Linked DNA regions of Homo sapiens: region 1 is linked to region 2. Evidence: promoter capture Hi-C in 16 types of primary human blood cells and fetal thymus (Javierre and others, 2016). All regions are on one chromosome and are shown on one strand. Each heading gives the region's core, a stretch centred on a gene start or on the middle of the fragment in contact. The rest is flanking DNA. Distances are from core to core; before and after follow the strand shown.

What was found. The method cuts DNA at HindIII sites, captures the fragments that hold promoters and counts their contacts. A CHiCAGO score of 5 or more calls a contact.
Region 1: a fragment that was not itself captured here is called in contact with the fragment with the promoter of C15orf61 in region 2 in 1 of 17 cell types (total CD8 T cells); the score reaches 7.1 in total CD8 T cells.

What each region holds. Positions count from the first base shown.
Region 1 is chr15:68,226,321-68,229,020 of GRCh38, forward strand. The region is part of intron 1 of CLN6 (CLN6 transmembrane ER protein); the gene reads right to left. Among named protein-coding and RNA genes, the nearest start is that of CLN6, 2.1 kb to the right of the region's middle. RefSeq lists an enhancer at 2,693-2,700. The HindIII fragment of the contact is 5,228 bases long and covers 1-2,700 here.
Region 2 is chr15:67,519,812-67,522,740 of GRCh38, forward strand. It overlaps C15orf61 (chromosome 15 open reading frame 61), which reads left to right and starts at 1,320. Exons shown (of 2, transcript NM_001143936.2): 1 at 1,320-1,783. The coding sequence starts at 1,438. It overlaps IQCH-AS1 (IQCH antisense RNA 1), which reads right to left and starts at 2,033. Exons shown (of 6, transcript NR_040052.1): 1 at 1,708-2,033. RefSeq lists enhancers at 907-986, 1,627-1,746 and a silencer at 1,167-1,516. The HindIII fragment of the contact is 4,154 bases long and covers 735-2,929 here.

The DNA of each region.
Region 1 (2,700 bases), core at 177-2,676, 710 kb after region 2:
AAAAAAAAAAAAAAAAGAGTCTGGACTTTGGAGACTGTTTGGGTTCATATCCCAGCTCTGCCACTAACCAGATCTTGAGCAAGTCACTTAACTTCTTGGGCCTTAATGTCCTCATTTGTAAAATGGAGATAATAGTAGATCCTATCCCTTTTTTTTCTTTTTTGAGACGGAGTCTCACTCTTGTTGCCCAGGCTGGAGTATAATGGCGCGATCTTGGCCCACCGCAACCTCCGCCTCCTGAGTTCAAGTAATTCTCCTGCCTCAGCCTCCCGAGTAGCTGGGACTACATGCGCATGACACCATGCCTGGCTAATTTTTGTATTTTTAGTAGAGACAGGGTTTCTCCATGTTGGTCAGGCTGGTCTTGAACTCCTGACCTCCTGATCCGCCCATCTCGGCCTCCCAAAGTGCTGGGATTACAGGCATGAGCCACCACACCTGGCCAGTAGATCGTATCTCAAGGGTCGTGGTTTAATTAATACATGCAAAAACTTAAGAGCAGGGCCTGATCCATAAAAAGTGCTAGTGTTTTTTATTGTTATAAACATATTATTTGGAAATAGGAATTTGACTCTGGAAAAAAGAGCTAAAAGAAGCTAGGGTGATTGTCTCTGGTGCTAGGGAAGAGTGGGACAGGGATTACTACTTTTTAAAACTTGAAGCCTTTGCTATTTGATTTATCACGGGCACTAATTATAATACTTTCTTTTCTTTTCTTTTTTTACTTTTTTTTTTTTTTGAGACAGTCTCACTGTCATCCAGGCTGGAGTGCAGTGGCGCCATCTCGGCTCACTACAACCTCCGCCTCCCAGGCTCAAGGGATCCTGGTGCCTCAGCCTCCTGAGTAGCTGGGATTACAGGCATGGGCCATCACACCTGGATAATTTTTGTATTTTTTAGTAGAGACGGGGATTCTCCATGTTGGCCAGGCTGGTCTCGAACTCCTGGACTCAAGTGATCCACCCACCTTGGCCTCCCAAAGTGCTGGGATTACAGGCGTGAGCCATGGCACCCGGCCTAATTGTAACACTTTCATTATAATACAAAAACTGGCAACAAAGCAGGTGGACGTTGGAATGGGTTACCTTAAGAGGTAGTGAGCAAAGCACGGATGCAGCAGAGGAAATCCAAGCATCCTAGGAACTGGACAGGATGATTCTGCCTACTCTCTTGAGCAGCAATGATACTGGGAATGGGCTGAAGCCACATTGTGGGGGGCAGAGACACCCTGGGAGACAGAGAGCTCCCACCCTCACACCACCCCCCTGGGAATACCCTGGCTGGTGGGGAGCTCACACAGGGGAAGAGGGACATGACTCCTTAGCAGCCAAAGTGGAGTCGTAAGAGCAGAGCCCGTAAGTCAGAAACCCTGGGTTTAGGCCCTGGTTCTTGCCAGCAAATGATGTAACCTCTTTGGGCCTCCATTTCCCCATCTGTACATTGGAAGTGACATCTGGCAGCTCATTGTCAAGACTGAGTAAGATGCTAGACATGGGAGCCCCACACAGGAGATAAAGTGGTGACCCTATCTGAGACCCACAGGCTGTTCCCATTGGGCTGTCACAGTTCAGGGCAGTCAGTGACCCCCAACTTGGCAAGGATTCGGAACAGAGACATCCCGCAGGCAGAAGAGGCTGCCTGGAAGAGGGGAGCTGGTAAATGGGTTGGGTCACAGCAGAGATGAAACCACTGGACACGGCGTGGGGCAGACAGCCCGGGGACTCAGCCAGTCAGGCTCCTCAGCCCATCTAAGCCTATTTCCTCATCAGTAAAATAATACTTAACTCACAGGCCGAGGGAGACAGGTGAGCTACAGTATGCGGTCTATGGCCAGTACATTGTTTCTAAGTGAAAACGGACACAGTCCGCAGCTGCTCAGCCCGCATGTCCGCAGCAGCAGAAACGAGCCATCCCTCACCTCAGCCCAAGCGCTCAGACTTCTCCCTTCATCCAGGTCGTACCAAAAACTTCCTAACAAGGACTTTGCGCATGCTAGTGCTCAGAAACTTCTCACGACTCCCCAGTGCCTATGGGATAAAGACTGTGTCCTTAACCTGTCACCTAGGACAGGAACTAGGGTGAGACAAGCAAGGCCTCCAAGGCCCAACATTTGAGGCGGCACTCACGGTCACGGCAGTGCGCCTACCCCTAAGTTTTGCAATCTAGGTCCTCAACTCGAGTCCTAGACTTGCTGCAATTAAAGGCCCTTCACAATCAGTCTGCATCCTCCTGTCACTTTCTTTTACAGCCGGAAAGCTCCAGCACCACTAAACTCCTTGCCCTTCCCCACTGTTTCCCTGGATGGAACAGCCTGTCTTCCCTGGGTCCCCTACCAAGTCCTCTGAGACTCAGCTCAAGTGCCACTTCCTCCATGAAGCCCTCCAAGATGACCGCTCACTCCCACTTGGGCTCTGTCTCTCCTGATCCCTACAGGACCGTAAGCCTCTCCCACCTTCACCCTGCCTACCCCCTTACTGCCTGGCACAGCGCTGGGCATACCACAGGCGCTTAAAGAATGCCTGCTGAATGCAGTGAATGTTTCTGGTCAGTAAAACGGGACGAAGGTAGAATGGAGCTCTGCTCGCCCAACGAGATAAACCAAAAACTGAGAAGGGCTCCTCATTCATTCTCTGGACGGCAGCTTCCGCCCTTCCCCGCTGTCTCTTCCATTACATTCGCACATTCTTGGGTGCCCCAGGT
Region 2 (2,929 bases), core at 70-2,569:
GCAGCTGCACTCCAGCCTAGACAACAGTGAGATCCTTTCTAAAAAAAAGAAAAGAAAAAGAAATTCTATAAAGTTCAAGTTCTATAAGGTAAAGTTCAACTTCAAATTCTGTAAGGTAAAGTTCAAGATTCGGCATATGTTGGTGGGTGCTCAATGTTCAATAAAAACTGGGGAATAGGCCTGGTGCAGTGGCTCACGCCTGTAATCCCAGCACTTTGGGAGGCCGAGGCAGGTGGATCACGAGGTCATGAGTTTGAGACCAGCCTGGCCAACATGGTGAAACCCCGTCTCTATTAAAAATACAAAAATTAGCCAGGCGTGGTGGTGCACGCCTGTAATCCCAGCCACTCGGGAGGCTGAGGCAGGAAAATCACTTGAACCTGGGAGGCAGAGGTTGCAGTGAGCTGAGATTGCACCACTGCACTCCAGCCTGGGCAACAGAGTGAGACTCCGTCTCAAAAAAACAAAACAAAACAAAACAAAAAACTGGGGAATATAAAATTTCGCCATACTATCCTACATCCCCCTTGAGTTTTTAGCAACGATAGTAATTGTTATATGATGCTTAACGCGTAATTACTGTACCTCATTTACATAAGGTGGTTTCAGACACATCATCTTGTTTATGTATGGCCTCTCCAAACAAAATGAGTTTAGGACAAAAGAGGAAATCCTTTTCTAAAAGCAGTTTTGTCCGTAAGTTACTGCCTCAAGAGGCCGCAAAGTTTGAGCAAAGCTTTTCCGAAAGTAATGGATTGGTAATGGGTGACTGAGGTCCACAAAGCTCGATAAGAGGCTCCTGGTCCGTCTACCAGGTTCTTAGAGGGAGGTGCCTTTGTGTGTTCGGACGCTGCACTGAGACACGTGAGGTTTTTAAATAAACTTTTGATTTTGAAATCTCTGGGACTAATTTTAAACAGTGAACCCGACAGCGAGGACCTACACACAAAAGTGCTCCCGGCCTTACCAAACAACGCAGACCCGGGGTCACGCCTCGTCCTGTTTCAACAACAACACCCAAGGGCTTCCCTGGAGCCCAGGGCGTGGGAGGGAGACTTGGGTTTGAGTTCTGCACCTTGCGGAGGTGGTTAGTTATTTAATTGTCTTCCACCTGAATTTTCCTCAGGCCCAAATTGATGAGACCTCCCCGAATCCCTCCCCTGCCCGAGTTACTAATGACGGCGTGAGGTCACACCTGGCCACTCAAAACCAGCTCCTTGACGCAGGTGACCCTCCGCCTCGCGCAGCTCACGCTTCCCATCCCCCGGACTCCACCCCCAGCGGGAGGCCACGGGGCCGCTGTGCGCACGCGCCGCCGCACACCGGGGGCTCTCGGGCACCCGCGCGGCGCCGGTTGGCCTTCCCGGCGCTCGCCCGGGGGCGCGCTTGCGCGCCAGCGGCTGCGGACACCAGCCTGCGTCCCCGGCGCGGCGGGCCATGGAGGCCCTGAGGAGGGCCCACGAGGTCGCGCTCCGCCTGCTGCTGTGTAGGCCGTGGGCCTCGCGCGCCGCCGCCCGCCCCAAGCCCAGCGCCTCGGAGGTGCTGACGCGGCATCTGCTGCAGCGGCGCCTGCCGCACTGGACCTCCTTCTGCGTGCCCTACAGCGCCGTCCGCAACGACCAGTTCGGCCTCTCGCACTTCAACTGGCCGGTGCAGGGCGCCAACTACCACGTCCTGCGCACCGGCTGCTTCCCCTTCATCAAGTACCACTGCTCCAAGGCTCCCTGGCAGGACCTGGCCCGGCAGAACCGCTTCTTCACGGCGCTCAAGGTCGTCAACCTCGGTGAGTGGCGACTGCCGCGCCCACGCGGTGAAGCCCGCCCGGCCGGGACGGCCCCTCAGCCACCGAGCACGTGACGAACGCTCGCAGGCCGGTAGAGTCCCGCGGGAGTCAGCTCTGCCTCCCGGCGCCGGCTTCGCCTGGGGTCCTTTGTACTCCTCGCCCAGGGGGTCCCCAGCTTGCTGAGCTCCTGGCACCCGAAGCCGTTCGCCTGCTGCGGGCGCGTCCTCGGGCCTAGGGAGGGGCGGGTCGCCCTCCTGTCCTGCCCATGTTAACCAGAGTAGACCCCTGGCCTGGGCAGTAAGCCAGGGGGCGTCAGGAAACGCCCCCTAGAAAGTGGCTCTGAAGTTGACATCCGTCCTACTGCATGGCAGGACTCATTCCCGTGAACATCACTTTGCAGCTGCGTTTATGTTGCAATAACTGGAACTACTCTTTTAAGTTTCTTTTGTTTTCTTTGTATGAATTCCCGGCAAGTTCGTTTTACTAAAAGCACCAAAGGTTTTCACCAGACATAACAGCTTCCTGAGGTGCTAGGCCTAAAAGATTTTTAAAGATCTTTAATATTTGTATATTTTCATGGAGACGCCCTGAGGATGTTTACTGTCACTAGGTGTTTATTTTCTTTTGGTTTAATGACAGAAGAGGGAGGTACGAACATGGACATGGGTGTATCTTTTATAGGTCAGGGGAAAACAGAAGGCCTCAAGATGTTTTGAACTTACTAATAGCTGGCATAAAATCAATCTAGATTTCAGTGATTCAAAATCTAGCCATGGAGCTGAATGAACCATGTTACCCAGCCAGGTTTTTAAAGCCAGGATTAAAACTAAACCCTGCGCAGCCGTACTACTAATACTATTACATAATCTGATCGTCCATTAAGGTTAAAAATAGTCTGTGTATTTGTGCTTATAATAACACATATGTCAGTCGTGGGCTTTTTGAGCCGTTACTCCACTGGACTGTCCTGTAAGGAGATAATTGTTTAGCAACGTGTTATCCTTTAAAAATGCCTCTTATTATTTGGCTGATGGACTGTATAGAGCATGCCCACTACTTTGGAGGTTGGTTGAAGTTGAAGGGTGAGGTGACTTAGGAAATTCAATTCGAAATTATTTGGAAAGACTGGAGTGTTAACTAGATTCG